Linked DNA regions of Homo sapiens: regions 1, 3, 4 and 5 are each linked to region 2. Evidence: promoter capture Hi-C in human tissues and cell types (Jung and others, 2019). All regions are on one chromosome and are shown on one strand. Each heading gives the region's core, a stretch centred on a gene start or on the middle of the fragment in contact. The rest is flanking DNA. Distances are from core to core; before and after follow the strand shown. Region 1 overlaps PFKFB4 (6-phosphofructo-2-kinase/fructose-2,6-biphosphatase 4). Region 2 holds the start of CDC25A (cell division cycle 25A). Region 3 overlaps MAP4 (microtubule associated protein 4). Region 4 holds the start of COL7A1 (collagen type VII alpha 1 chain). Region 5 overlaps SHISA5 (shisa family member 5).

Evidence for each region. Contacts are between HindIII fragments. The study calls those that stand out against the background at their distance.
Region 1: a fragment that was not itself captured here is called in contact with the fragment with the promoter of CDC25A in region 2 in 2 of the 25 tissues and cell types used here (IMR-90 fibroblasts and pancreas).
Region 3: a contact is called between a fragment that was not itself captured here and the fragment with the promoter of CDC25A in region 2, in 2 of the 25 tissues and cell types used here (aorta and mesenchymal stem cells).
Region 4: the fragment with the promoter of COL7A1 here is called in contact with the fragment with the promoter of CDC25A in region 2 in 1 of the 25 tissues and cell types used here (lymphoblastoid cells).
Region 5: a contact is called between a fragment that was not itself captured here and the fragment with the promoter of CDC25A in region 2, in 1 of the 25 tissues and cell types used here (H1 embryonic stem cells).

What each region holds. Positions count from the first base shown.
Region 1 is chr3:48,526,172-48,528,871 of GRCh38, reverse strand. All of the region lies in intron 9 of PFKFB4 (6-phosphofructo-2-kinase/fructose-2,6-biphosphatase 4), which reads left to right. Among named protein-coding and RNA genes, the nearest start is that of MIR6823, 22 kb to the left of the region's middle. The HindIII fragment of the contact is 3,007 bases long and covers 1-2,700 here.
Region 2 is chr3:48,186,939-48,189,868 of GRCh38, reverse strand. It overlaps CDC25A (cell division cycle 25A), which reads left to right and starts at 1,452. Exons shown (of 15, transcript NM_001789.3): 1 at 1,452-2,091. The coding sequence starts at 1,922. RefSeq lists a silencer at 1,786-1,995 and an enhancer at 1,739-2,367. The HindIII fragment of the contact is 16,525 bases long and covers 1-2,930 here.
Region 3 is chr3:47,885,452-47,888,376 of GRCh38, reverse strand. The region is part of intron 10 of MAP4 (microtubule associated protein 4); the gene reads left to right. Among named protein-coding and RNA genes, the nearest start is that of MIR1226, 37 kb to the right of the region's middle. The HindIII fragment of the contact is 3,092 bases long and covers 1-2,925 here.
Region 4 is chr3:48,593,964-48,596,932 of GRCh38, reverse strand. COL7A1 (collagen type VII alpha 1 chain) reads left to right here and starts at 1,604. Exons shown (of 119, transcript NM_000094.4): 1 at 1,604-1,665; 2 at 1,773-1,858; 3 at 2,385-2,565. The coding sequence starts at 1,774. The HindIII fragment of the contact is 15,548 bases long and covers 1-2,969 here.
Region 5 is chr3:48,487,041-48,489,989 of GRCh38, reverse strand. All of the region lies in intron 2 of SHISA5 (shisa family member 5), which reads left to right. Among named protein-coding and RNA genes, the nearest start is that of SHISA5, 16 kb to the left of the region's middle. The HindIII fragment of the contact is 5,851 bases long and covers 1-2,949 here.

The DNA.
Region 1 (2,700 bases), core at 103-2,602, 340 kb before region 2:
ACCACTAATGTTTTCAAGGTTTATTCGTGTAGCATGTAGCAGTATTTCATTCCTTTACATTGCCAAATAACATCCTATTATATAAATATACCACACATTATGTATCCATTCATCAGTTGATGGGCATTTGAGTTGTTGCCACTTTTGGGCTATGTGGATAATGCTGCTGTGAACATTCATGTCCAAGGTGTTTTCTATGTTTGTTTGTTTGAGACAGGGTCTTGCTTTGTTGCCCAGGCTGAGTGCAGTAGCACGATCTTAGCTCACTGCAGCCTCCATCTCCTGGGCTCAAGCAATCCTCCCACCTCTGTCTCCCAAGTAGCTGGGACTACAGGAACTCGCCACCACACCCAGCTAATTTTTGTATTTGTTTGTAGAGATGGGGTTTCATCATGTTGCCCAGGCTGGTCTCAAACTCCTGGGCTCAAGAGATCTACCTGCCTTGGCCTCCCAAAGTGCTGGGATTACAGACATGAGCCACCGCATCCGGCATAAGTTTTTGTGCGGACTTATATTTTTATTTCTCCTCACTGTACGCTAGGAGTAGAATTGCTGGGTCATATGGTAATTATACATTCAACCTTTTCAGAAACTGCCACACTGTTTCGCCATCTCACATTCCCTCCCGCAGTGTGTGAGGGCTCTGATTTCTCCACATACCCGCCTGCGCTTGTTACCATCAGTCTTGGTTGTAGCCGTCCAACATGGGAACTCAGTTTAGCCACATTCTCTGCCACTTTATAACATGGATTACCTTTTCTCTAGGGTCCAGGAAAAGGTACCTCATTTCCCCTTGTGGGCTCACAGAGGCACCTTTAATGTTCATATTTCTATCAACGTTCTTTTCATGATGATATATGTGCTCTTTACGATGGTGGAAGCTGGCCGGGCGTAGTGGCTCATGACTGTAATCCCAGCACTTTGGGAGGCCGAGATGGGCAGATCACATGAGGCCAGGAGTTCGAGACCAGCCTGGTCAACATGGCGAAACCCCGTCTCTACTAAAAATACAAAAAATTAGCCAGCCATGGTGGCCTGTGCCTGTAATCCCAGCTACTCAGGAGGCTGAGGCAGGAGAATTGTTTAAACATGGGAGGCAGAGGTTGCAGTGAGCTGAGATTGCACCACTGCACTCCAGCCTGGGCAACAGAGTGAGACCCTGTCTCAAAAAAAAAAAAAAAAAAAAAGATGATGGACGCTTTCTCTGTCATCCTCTTCACTTCCTTCTGTGCCTTCACCAGAATAATCTTTAATGTCTAAATTTCTACTAACAGTCTCTTCAAGACAGTCTAAGCTTTTTATCATGCACCACAAAATTCTTCCAGCCTCTACCCACTATCCCATTTCATAACCACTTCCACATTTTTAGTTCTTTATTACAGCAGCCAGCAGCACTTCACCTCCTGGTACCAAAATATGTGTTAGTATTCAAGTGTGGTGGCGCACACCTGTAGTCCCAGCTACTTGGGAGGCTGAGGTGGGAGGATCACCTGAGCCTGGGAAGTTTGAGGCTGCAGTGAGCCAAGATCACACCACTGGACTCCAGCCTGTGTGACAGAGTAAGACTGTCTCAAAAAAAAAAAAAAAACCACTAAATGTTAAAAAAAAAAAAAGTATTAGTTTACTAGGGCTGCCGTAACAAAGCACTACAGGTGAGTGGCTTAAAACAACATGAATTGATTCTCTCACAGTTCTGGAGGCTAGAAGTCTGAAATCAAGGCGTCAGCGGGGCCATGCTCCCTCTGAAGGTGCTAATAAAGAACGCTTCCTCACCTCTTCCTAGTTTCCAGTTGTTGCTGGTAATCCTTGGTATTTCTTGGCTCATAGCCTCATCACTCCAATCCCACCTCTGTCCACGGTCATCACATGGCTTTCTTCCCTATGTATGTCTGTCTGTGCCTTCACATGACATTCTTTTTTTTTTTTTTTTTGAGATGGAGTCTCGCTCTGTCACCCAGGCTGGAGTGCAGTGGCATGATCTCAGCTCCCTGCAATCTCTGCCTCCCGGGTTCAAGAGATTCTTCTGCCTCAGCCTCCCAAGTAGCTGGGACTACAGGCGTGAGCCACCACGCCTGGCTAATTTTTGTATTTTTTTAGTAGAGACGGGGTTTCACCATATTGGCCAGGCTGGTCTCAAACTCCTGACCTCATGATCCACCTGCCTCAGCCTCCCAAAGTGCTGGGATTACAGGCATGAGCCACTGTGCCCGGCCTACATGGCGTTCTTAAAAGGACACCAATGACTGGATTTAGGACCCACTCTAATCCAATATGTCCCCATCTTTTTTTTTTTTTTTTTGAGACAGAGTCTCATTCTCTTCCCCAGGCTGGAGTGCAGTGGCGTAATCTTGGCTCACTGCAATCTCCACCTCTTGGGTACATGCGATTCTCCTGCTTCAGCCTCCTGAGTAGCTGGGACTACAGGCGTGCGCCACCACGCCCAACTAATTTTTGTATTTTTAGTAGAGACGGGGATTCATCATGTTGACCATGCTGGCCTTGAACTCCTGATCTCAGGTGATCCACCTGCCTCAGCCTCCCAAAGTGCTGGGATTACAGGCTGTGAGCTGTGAGCCACCACGCCCAGCCAACTTTTCTTTTTTTTTCTTTTCTTTTGAGAGGGAGTCTCTCTCTGTTGCCCAGGCTGGAGTGCAGTGGCACAATCTCAGCCCACTGCAACCACTGCCTCCTCCACCATGT
Region 2 (2,930 bases), core at 203-2,702:
AAAGTGCTGGGATTACAGGCGTGAGCCACCGCTCCCGGCCTGTTGAGCCAAGTATTAAACCACATAAAACACAGGAGGAGAGGAAAGTATTCAGAGATACGACAGGGAGAACTATTTGAAACAGTGGGACCACAGACCATGTGAACTGTGCAGAGAGGCCTAAATAGCCTGGGGTTTCTGGAGGGAAGGGAGGTTCCTGGGTGGTGGAGCACTGGTGCACAGAAAAGGAGATGAATCCTGAGAGAGAGGTTCCTCACTGTGAAGGGTCTGGTGTTGGGGCCAAAGGTTTGGGGTTTCCACCTGTCCAGCATGGCTTTTCAAACTGTAGGGTTTTTTTTTTTTGAGTGGGGGGCAGGGGGTGTCTCACTTTGTTGCCCAGGCTGGTCTCAAATTCGTGGGCTCAGGCAATCCTCCCACCTCGCCCTCCCAAAGTGCTGGGATGATAGGCGTGAGCCACTAAGCCCAGCAGTAGGTTGCAATTAAATCATGCACTTATGGCCCTCAAAATCCGTCTAGGAGCTGCCACAGGTTCGGCGCTGTAAAAGTAAATATGCCCACTTAGAAAATGGGGATAATTCCTATGTCACAGAGTTGTAAAGATTAAATGAATTAATACAGATTAACACACTGGGAACAGTGTCAAGTGCATAAGCATTATGTAAACTTTAGCTATTATTTGCTATTATTGTGTTTGCTGTTATTTCTCTCTAGGAGCTCCCAGGGGGCTAAGAAGTGGTGGGAAAGAAAGAAATGATTCTAAGAGCATCCAATAAGGGCTAGAATGGAAGTGAGCAAAAAATGCTGAGGCCCACAGCACAGGTTGTACTGCGGGGTTCAAATCCCATGAGGCCAGCAGCACCCAGGGTCTGTGAGCCCTCCAGAGTTGGGCCCTGGTGGTCGAGTCCAGTCCTGGGGGTCATTGCATTCCCTCCCTCATTATAAAATGGGGCCTGGAGGCCCGGGGCGGAAGAAAGGGGTCCACAATACTGCACGGTTAGAGGCCGAGCCAAGGCTGGATCCGGCCAGACCTCCACAGGTCTTCCTTAGCCTCCACATTGCCTCAGAGTGTGGGGCGCCCGGCTGGGGGCGAGGTAGCGGAGGCCCAAAGGGGGCCGAAGCTAACTGGACGGCAGCTCGCGATGGGAACTACGCTTCCCAGCATGCGACGGGGCAAAGGGGCCTTTCAGCCGCGAGCAGCGCCTCGCAGGTTCTGCTGGGAGTTTTCATTGACCTCTGCTCCCCCTCTCATTTTGATCCCCGCTCTTCTGCTCTGGGCTCCGCCCCCTTCTGAGAGCCGATGACCTGGCAGAGTCCCGCGAGCCGCTTTCTTCTTCCCCTCTCATTGGCCCAGCCTAGCTGCCATTCGGTTGAGAGGAGGAGAAGTTGCTTACTGATTGGTGGATTCCGTTTGGCGCCAACTAGGAAAGGGGGGCGGGGCAGCAGCTGGCCCCACTGAGCCGCTATTACCGCGAAAGGCCGGCCTGGCTGCGACAGCCTGGGTAAGAGGTGTAGGTCGGCTTGGTTTTCTGCTACCCGGAGCTGGGCAAGCGGGTGGGAGAACAGCGAAGACAGCGTGAGCCTGGGCCGTTGCCTCGAGGCTCTCGCCCGGCTTCTCTTGCCGACCCGCCACGTTTGTTTGGATTTAATCTTCAGGTTGCCGGCGCCCGCCCGCCCGCTGGCCTCGCGGTGTGAGAGGGAAGCACCCGTGCCTGTGGCTGGTGGCTGGCGCCTGGAGGGTCCGCACACCCGCCCGGCCGCGCCGCTTGCCCGCGGCAGCCGCGTCCCTGAACCGCGGAGTCGTGTTTGTGTTTGACCCGCGGGCGCCGGTGGCGCGCGGCCGAGGCCGGTGTCGGCGGGGCGGGGCGGTCGCGGCGGAGGCAGAGGAAGAGGGAGCGGGAGCTCTGCGAGGCCGGGCGCCGCCATGGAACTGGGCCCGGAGCCCCCGCACCGCCGCCGCCTGCTCTTCGCCTGCAGCCCCCCTCCCGCGTCGCAGCCCGTCGTGAAGGCGCTATTTGGCGCTTCAGCCGCCGGGGGACTGTCGCCTGTCACCAACCTGACCGTCACTATGGACCAGCTGCAGGGTCTGGGCAGGTAAGGAGAGACCGGCGGGCGGTGCTCCGGGCCCCTGGCCTCGGTGTCGGCCTCGGAGAGATCAGGCCAGGAAACGGACCGGGAGAAGGGCGAGACCCGTCCGTCCGGGTTCGCCGCTCGGGGACAGCCGGGCTAGGGCCTGCCATGTGCACCCCCGCCCGGGCGGAATGTTGGGCGGGAGAGGCCGTCGGGACCTTCCAGGGGAAGAGGTGGAGATCCTTGGGCCTAAGCCCGAGCCAGGCCCACCTTCACCCCTTTCGGATTGCTCCGTACTCTCCTTCTATCTCTATCCCTGGAAGCTCTTTGGAATCTACCCCCGCGGGGAAAATCAGGCTCTTCTAGGCACTCACTTTCACCCTTTGCTAAACCATCCTCAGGATCTTCGTTTGCTGTGATCTTTGTTCCTTCTCAACAAAGGACCATGGCATTTTCTTTCCTGGCGTTTATGTAAAATCATCTCAGTCCCTCGCCCTGTGCACATTCCTGATGTCCACTCTGCTGCTTTCCTAAGGCCAGGTCTTTTTACCCAACTTTCAGAAAGCTTCCTGGGCTTTTCCTGATAGCAAAAAATGCATCCCACGGTGTTTCCCGCGGAAGAGCTACTTTCCCTTCAATCTCTGGCATCCCGTTTGCTAAGCACATGTCTTGTGCGTTTCCCAACTTCTGAAAAGCAGAAAGTGTCCTGTTCAACTTTCATCCCGACTCTGTCTCAGTACTTAGAACACATGCTTTTATTTTAGGAAATACCCCAACATTTGCCATAGCCATCATAACCTGCAATGTGGTCCAAGGCCATGCCCACCCACTCCTTTTTTCTCCTTTGCCCAAGTGCTAATTGG
Region 3 (2,925 bases), core at 166-2,665, 300 kb after region 2:
AAGCAGAGTGGACCCAAAGAGTGAGCAGTAGCAAGATTTATTGCAAAGAACGAAAGAACAAAGCTTCCACAGTGTGGAAGGGGACCCGAGCGGGTTACCAGTGCTGGCTCGGGCAGCCTGCTTTTATTCTCTTATCTGGGCCCACCCACATCCTGCTGATTGGTAGAGCCGAGTGGCCTGTTTTGTCAGGGCACTGATTGGTGCGTTTACAATCCCTGAGCTAGATACAAAGGTTCTCCGTGTCCCCATCAGATTAGTTAGATACAGAGTTTCGACACACAGATTCTCCAAGGCCCCACCAGAGCAGCTAGATACAGAGTGTCGATTGGTGCACTCACAAACCTTGAGCTAAACACAGGGTGCTGATTGGTGTGTTTACAAACCTTGAGCTAGATGCAGAGGTTCTCCAAGGCCCCACCAGAGCAGCTAGATACAGAGTGTCGATTGGTGCATTCACAAACCTTGAGCTAAACACAGGGTGCTGATTGGTGTGTTTACAAACCTTGAGCTAGATACAGAGTGCCGATTGGTGTATTTACAATCCCTGAGCTAGACATAAAGGTTTTCCAAGGCCCCACCAGAGCAGCTAGATACAGAGTGTCGATTGGTGGATTCACAAACCTTGAGCTAAACACAGGGTGCTGATTGGTGTATTTACAATCCCTGAGGTAGATATAAAGACTCTCCACGTCCCCACCAGACTCAGGAGCCCAGCTGGGTTCACCTAGTGGATCTCGCACTGGGGCTGCAGGTGGAGCTGCCTGCCAGTCCTGCGCCGTGGTGCGTTCGCATTCCTCAGCCTTTGGGTGGTTGATGGGACTGGGCGCCGTGGAGCAGGGGGTGGTGCTTGTCAGGGAGGCTCGGGCGGCACAGGAGCCCATGGAGGGGTGGGAGGCTGAGGCATGGCGGGCTGCAGGTCCCGAGCCCTGCCCCGCGGGAAAGCAGCTAAGGCTCAGTGAGAAATCGAGCGCAGCACTTATGGGCCGGCACTGCTGGGGGACTCAGTACACCCTCTGCAGCCACTGGCCCGGGTGCTAAGTCCCCCATTGCCCGGGGCCAGCAGGGCTGGCTGGCTGCTCCAAGTGCGGGGCCCACCAAGCCCACGCCCACCCGGAACTCCAGCTGACCCGCAAGTGCTGCGCGCAGCCCCGGTTCCTGCTCGCGCCTCTCCTTCCACACCTCCCTGCAAGCTGAGGGAGCTGGCTCTGGCCTTGGCCAGCCCAGAAAGGGGGTCCCACAGTGCAGCGGCGGGCCAAAGGGCCCCTCAAGTGCCGCCAAAGTGGGAACCCAGGCAGAGGAGGCGCCGAGAGCAAGCGAGGGCTCTGAGGACTGCCAGCACGCTGTCACCTCTCACTACCATGTTCTGAAACTGTGGTGACTGCCTATGATAGCAGATAAAGTAGCTCCAGGTCAGCTTTAGGAAGATTTACTTGTTCTCAGTAAGTGTGATGAACTGGAAGACAAAGAGTTGAAAGCAAACAATCCTGTTAGAAATTTGATTCAGGTAGTGGCAGATGAAACGCTGAGGATATGAGAGGGGAAATATAACAGGTGAAGATAAAGTGAAACTGGAATTTGGAAGGTGTGTGAGAAAAAGGAATTGAAGGTCATGCTGTGATGTGAGGCTGGTTTTCCCAGCCAGTGGTAGTATAGGTAATGGAAAGACCCAACAGAAGAGCACAGTTCATTGAAGGAGTTAGTAAGTTCCACATCAGACATTGCTTTTGTGAAACTCTGGGGATATGTGGGTGGTGGTCTCTAGAAATTGCCTGATAGCTGGGCTTGGTGGCTCATGCCTGTAATCTCAGCACTTTGGGAGGCCTTGGCAGGCAGATTACTTGAGGCCAGGAGTTTGAGACCAGCCTGAGCAACATGGCAAAAAACCCATCTCTATGGAAAAATACAAAAATTAGGTGGGCATAGTGGCATGTACCTATAGTCCCAACTGTTTGGGAGGCTGAGGTGGGAGGATTGCTCGAGCCCAAAAGGACAAGGCTGCAGTGAGCCAAGATCATGCCACTGTGCTCCAGCCTGGGAGATAGATCAAGATCAGGTCTCAAAACAAACAACAAAAAAGAAGTTGCCTTATATATCCATGAGACAAGGGAAAGGGCTTGGTGAGAACTACCTTCTGGGAGAGAGAAAGCAGTTTCTGCTTATGCACAGTTACATTTATTTGTATAGGTCGAGTTACTGCATGCCTGTATCATAGACAATGCGACTTTATGAAATATGTTGTTTACTGAAAAATGCTGAACTTATTGAAAAATATTTATAGTGGTCTGGGGCCAGTGGCAGCTAGTTACACAAGTAAGATCTTCTTTGAGCTTGCTGTAGAACAAAGGCATTAGCCGGGCGCGGTGGCTCACGCCCGTAATCCCAACACTTTGGGAGGCCGAGGCGGGCGGATCATGAGGTCAGGAGATCGAGACCATCCTGGCTAACACAGCGAAACCCCAACTCTACTAAAAATGCAAAGAATTAGTTGGGCGTGGTGGCAGGCGCCTGTAGTCCCGGCTACTCGGGAGGCTGAGGCAGGAGAATGGCATGAACCCAGGAGGCGGAGCTTGCAGTGAGCCGAGATGGCGCCACTGCACTCCAGCCTGGGTGACAGAGCGAGATTCCGTCTCAAAAAAAAAAAAAAAAGAACAAAGGCGTTAACAAATTTGCACAGTTGTTGGCTATGGTTTTTCCCCATTACATTTTAAAACTAGAAAAATACTCAGTTTTTGACTAAAAGTACATATGGTTCAAACATCAAAAAGTACAAAGTGCTCTCCATTACAAAAACCTCCTACCAAGACAAGATGGTATCATCTCATTGTTTTCTGCTCCTCCCCTGTAAATACAACTAAATAGTCTGGAAATAATTGAAGATAATTCCATAAAAGAATATGAGGTAGAAAGAAGGCAAACCTGGTAGGG
Region 4 (2,969 bases), core at 355-2,854, 410 kb before region 2:
CGTACTGTCCATGCCACTGGCCTGCTCTTGCCCGCCCTGGCTGCACGGGAGGAGGTGACAGTCTTAGGGGGAAGGGGCTGCCTGTGTGATAACATACCTGGTTCTCTGCAGCCCCCCACCTGGAGCACACCTTGCAGGGATGGGGGGTCCTGGGACATGGCTGAGGAGACCCTGACCTTGGAATAAGGTCATAGCACTATGCCCCAGGATAGTTTGGGGGGTCAGTAATAAGGGATAGAGCCCCAGCCTTCCTTGGGCAATAGGAAAGCAGGCAGCATGGATGGTCTTCACTGCCTCCAGCTCTGGCCACACCAGAGTCCTCGGGCTGTGGAGGAGTCCAGCCAGTGCTGTCCCCATATCTCCCTGTGGATCCCAGGGGAGGCTGTGGGGCCGGGCATATTAGAAGGGGCCCAGCAGCCTTGGTGAGTATAGATGTGCTTTCTGGGCTGCCCAGAGTTATTCAGGATTAGCAGGAAAAAAAGGGGGAGCAGGACCCAGATGGGGGCCTGCCCTTCTTAGCAGTGCCTCTCTGCCTTAGTGTCACCCATCTAATGGAGAGATATGCATATACAGAGCCCCACCTCCTTCGGACAGTGGCCCTGGCGTGGTGTGTGTTGGAGGACTGTCCACAGCCTCAGAAGCGAAGCTGGGGGAGGGTGTGAAGTCAGCCTGGGTAAGGGGACAGGAGTAAGGTAGGGGGCAGTTATGAAGCTGGAAGCTACAGGTACCATGAGGGCAGTGAGGAAAGGAGGAAGGGGCCCAAGGGGACCTCGGCCTGGTAGGGGAGATGGGTGGCAGGGACCTACAAGAAAAGTAGATGGAAGGAGAGGATGCCTGTGGGTGAGGACATGTAGGTAGGGGGACCTGGCCTGGGGCATGGAGGGCTCGATTCCTGAGAGATGAGCTGTCACTGTGGGTGGTCCCGCCCTCCACAGATGGGCGGCCCCCTCCCTGCAGGCACAGCTGGATTGCATCTGCCTGTGACATGGTAGGGGATGTGGGACACTGGGATGTATGCATAAGCATGACACAGGTTCTCTCCTCCTTCCGGCTTATCCCCTACAAAGAGGGGGTGAGTTACTTGGATCCAGGCCAAGGGGACCTTGGTTTCCCTAAGACCGGCCCAGAGTCACTCATTTGCCAGGGCTTCTTGCCTGTCAAGGAGATCCGGGTGGGGCCCAGGAGGCCCACCAGACAGATGGCTGAATCACAGGAGTGGCCGGCGGGACCCATGGCCTGAGGGCTTGTCTGGGCACCCCCACTGGATTGGGGGTGAGTCATCCCCAACTGCAGCCCCACCCCCCACGGCGCTGCTGCCTTGTGGCTCTGCAGGAACCTGTCCACTCCTCAGCCTGGTCACTGTGATTGACCTAAAGCAGCCAAGACCTGTGACCTTAGATGGAGTTAGGGGTACTCCCTCAGCATCTGCCCATGCAGAACCTTCTGGGAAATTCCCAGAAGCCACGGGGGGTCGGGGGGTTTATAGTTAAGTGCGTCATATCGTTTGTCTGGGGGAGGGGTGGGGGGGGCGGCGACCTCTCAGGGATATGGGTGAGGGCGGGTGCCTGGGTTCCCGCCTGCCGCTCCGCCCCCCGAGATCAGGGACTTTTCTCTGCTCTGCCCGAGAGACTGCAGCGGCGGCGGCGGGAGCGGGCGGACGCGCAGGCAAGACCAGGACTCGGGCTGGAGGGGCGCTGGGCTCGGACCTGCCAAGGCCACGGGGGAGCAAGGGACAGAGGCGGGGGTCCTAGCTGACGGCTTTTACTGCCTAGGATGACGCTGCGGCTTCTGGTGGCCGCGCTCTGCGCCGGGATCCTGGCAGAGGCGCCCCGAGTGCGAGCCCAGCACAGGGAGAGAGGTGGGCACCGCAAGGGAGGACCCGGCCCGGGGCACTGCACCGTGCCACCCTCCGCTCCACTCGGCCTTCATCCCCAACACCCCCCGCCCACAACCCAGCCAACTCCACGACGCCCCGCGGATTCCTCCTAATTCTGGGACTCCCCGAACCCTCCGCGATCGGTGCTGGGTTCCCTAAACCGCCTCCTATCCTGTTCCTACCCAAATTCTGGCTCCCTGGATGCGTGCGGGGTCCCCTGCCTTATGCCAATCCACGCCGGCCCCTAGAGGCTGACCTCAGTCCCAAGTCCACACCCGTGCTGGCGACTCTCCCTCCCCCGCACACCCCCAACCCTCCGCGGGAGTCTGCTCTGGGACCCACCGAGCTCAACTCCCTCCAAGGCCCTCAGGCTCAGGCCGATTCGGCCCTGGTTTGCATAAGATGAGGCCTACTCTCCCCACCATCCCAAGTCCCAGTGAGGCCACCGTGCGGGTAGGCGGGTGGTTGGCCTCCCAGAAGAGGCCCTGATCTCTCCTGCCCGCCCCAGTGACCTGCACGCGCCTTTACGCCGCTGACATTGTGTTCTTACTGGATGGCTCCTCATCCATTGGCCGCAGCAATTTCCGCGAGGTCCGCAGCTTTCTCGAAGGGCTGGTGCTGCCTTTCTCTGGAGCAGCCAGTGCACAGGGTGTGCGCTTTGCCACAGTGCAGTACAGCGATGACCCACGGTGAGTAGGGGCCCTGGGGGCTGGGGACCACGAGATCCCCACCAAGACTCCTTCCCCAGAGAGGGAGGAGACCCTGGAAACCCCAGGCCAGGTCTTTGCAGAAACAAGTTTTGGGGAACCTAGAGACCCCCTAGCCAGGACCTCCTTTGGAGACAGAGGTAAGGATTCCCTAGGTAGAACCTTCGTGCCCTGAGGCACCTCCAGGCTACTGCAAGACAGGAAGGTGCAAGACAGTGAGGCTGTGTTTTCTGATCTGGAGATGGGGAGCCCAGGAGGGGGCCCCCACGCCTGTTGGATTCTCCACGTTCTAGCCCTCTAACCCTTGCAGCCGTTCACCAGAGGTGCTCCATCTGGCCAGCATCCACTTTCCTACATCTGGACCCCTCCTCCTGCAATTATTTAAT
Region 5 (2,949 bases), core at 27-2,526, 300 kb before region 2:
TTGAATTGTCTTTGAGGTCCTTTTCTTGTCTTTAAGAACACTGCACCTTGAAAATAGCGCTGCCAAGCATGATGGCTGACGCCTTTAATCCCAGTACTTTGAGAGGCTGAGATGGGAGGATTGCTTGAGCCCAGGAGTTCAAGACCAGCCTGGGCAATATAGTGAGACCTCGTCTCCATGATTTTTTTTTTTTAGTTAGCTGGGCATGGTAGCATGCACTTGTAGCCCCAGCTACTCAGGAGGCTGAGGTGGGAGGATTGCTTGAGCCTAGGAGATCAAGGTTGCAGTGAGCTGTGATCACACTACTGCACTCCAGCTTGGGTGGCAGAGTGAGACCCTGTCTCAAAAAAAAAAAAAAAAAAAAAAAAGGCCAGGCGCAGTGGCTCAAGCCTGTAATCCCAGCACTTTGGGAGGCCGAGGCGGGCGGATCACAAGGTCAGGAGATCGAGACCATCCTGGCTAACATGGTGAAACCCCGTCTCTGCTGAACAAAATAGAAAAAGTTAGCCAGGCATGGTGGCGGGCGCCTGTAGTGCCAGCTACTCAGGAGACTGAGGCAGGAATGGCGTGAACCCGGGAGGCAGAGCTTGCAGTGAGCTGAGATCATGCCACTGCACTCCAGCTTGGGTGACAGAGTGAGACTCTGGCTAAAAAATAAAAAAATAAAAAAATAGCTGTAGCAGGGGTGTCCAATCTTTTGCCTTCTCTGGGCCACTTTGGAAGAAGAAAATTGTCTTGGGCCACACATAAAACACACTAATGATAGCTGATGAGCAAAAAAAAAAAAAAAAAAATCTCATAATGTTTTAAGAAAGTTTAAGAATTTGTGTTGGGCCACATTCAAAGCCATCCTGGCCTGAATGTGGGCCGCTGGTCACAGGTTGGACAAGCTTGCTCTATGGCCCAGTCCTGTAGGATCTTAGATGTCCGACAGCCTTCCTTCACTTCATCCCCTTTCTCCCCTCTGGCAGGTGCTAGGGTGACTGATTAGGTCTGTGATTCATACCCATTCTAATCTCCTTACCTCGCAGTTTTTGGACTACTCTCTTAGTATTTACAGTATGGATAGGCTGAGAATTGTCCAGATTTTTAAATTCTAGTTCTTTTTTTGCTTAACAATTCATTTCTCTTTTTTCACTTTTTTTTTTTTTTTTTTGAGACGGAGTTTCGCTCTTGTTGCTCAGGCTGGAGTGCAATGGCATGAGCTCAGCTCACCGCAACCTCCACCTCCCGGGTTCAAGTGATTCTGCTGCCTCAGCCTCCCTAGTAGCTGGGATTACAGGCATGTGCCACCACGCACGGCTAATTTTGTGTTTTTAGTAGAGACGGGGTTTCTCCATGTTGGCCAGGCTGGTCTCGAACTCCCGACATCAGGTGATCTGCCCGCCTTGGCCTCCCAAAGTGCTGGGATTACAGGCGTGAGCCACCGCGCCCGGCCTTTTCACATTTTACTATAAGCAGTTGGCTGGGTGCGGTGGCTCACGCCTGTAATCCCAGCACTTTGGGAGGCCAAGGTAGGCGGATCATGAGGTCAGGAGATCAAGACCATCCTGGCTAACATGGTGAAACCCCATCTCTACTAAAAATACAAAAAGTTAGCCGGGCATGGTGGTGGGCACCTGTAGTCCCAGCTACTCGGGAGGCTAAGGGAGGAGAATGGCGTGAACCAGGGAGGCGGAGCTTGCATTGAGTCGAGATTGGGCTACAAGCAAGACTCTGTCTCACAAAAAAAAAAAAAAAAAAAAAAAGCAGTCAAGAGGATCCAAGCTGCTCCTTCAACACTAAGTATCCCATATATTTCAAGTTTTCCTCTGAATTGCTCAATCTTTTGTTTAATCTCTTTAAGCTCTTTTTTCCTTTAATCTCACTGTGTAATCTTTAAACAGTGTATGTGTTGTTATTCTAATGTCAGTGTCTGATAATTTCAGTATTTTAAGGCAAATTTTTCTCCTTAGCTTCACTGGTTTTCCTTCAAATGTATTAGGGTATAATTGTTTATAATGCTTTTAAATTTTGTTTTGTTTAACATCTAAAGAAATATCCCCCATGGGTACTTCTTTTGTTTTGTTTTGTTTTGGTTTGGTTTGGTTTTTTGAGACGGAGTCTCACTCTGTTGCCCAGGCTGGAGTGCAGTGGCATGATCTTGGCTCACTGCAACCTCTGCCTCCCAGGTTCAAGCGATTCTCCTACCTCAGCCTCCCAAGCAACTTGGGTTACAGGCATGTGCCACCATGCCCAGATAATTTTTTTGGTATTTTTAGTAGACAGGGTTTTGCTATGTTGGCCAGGCTGGCCTTGAACTCCTTACCTCAGGTGATTCACCCACCTTGGCCTCCCAAAGTGCTGGGATTACAGATGTGAGCCACTGCGCCCAGCTGGTATTTCTTTTTTTGTGTGTGTGAGACATACAAGGTCAGTATAGTAAAAAAATCTATTAAACTTCTAATTAAAAATATAATTTCAAAAGACGTTTCCAATAGCATCAAAAACATCAAATACCTAGGAAAGACAAAATTTCTACACAGAAAACTATGAACCATAAACTGTAAAACATACAAACTGTGTATTTATAAAACATATAAACATACAAACTATAAACATTAAAACGTATAAACTGTATGTTCATAAAGCATATAAACTATGTAACTATATAAACTATAAAATACATAAAACATTATTACAAAAAATCATAGCCCTAAATAAATGGAGGCATAGACAGGGCTCATGAATTGGAAGACCATATTTTAAAGATATTGATTCCCCTCAAATTGGTATATGGAATTTGTTAAATTTCAGTTTTAGAAAACTCTTGGCAGGCGCATCTGTGTGGGAGTGTGTGGGAGTGTGTGTGTGTGTGTGCGTGTGCGTGTGTGTGTGTGCGCCTATGGACATTATTATATTTTTTTAATACTGATGGGATCTCCCTATGTTGCCCAGGCTGGTCTTGAA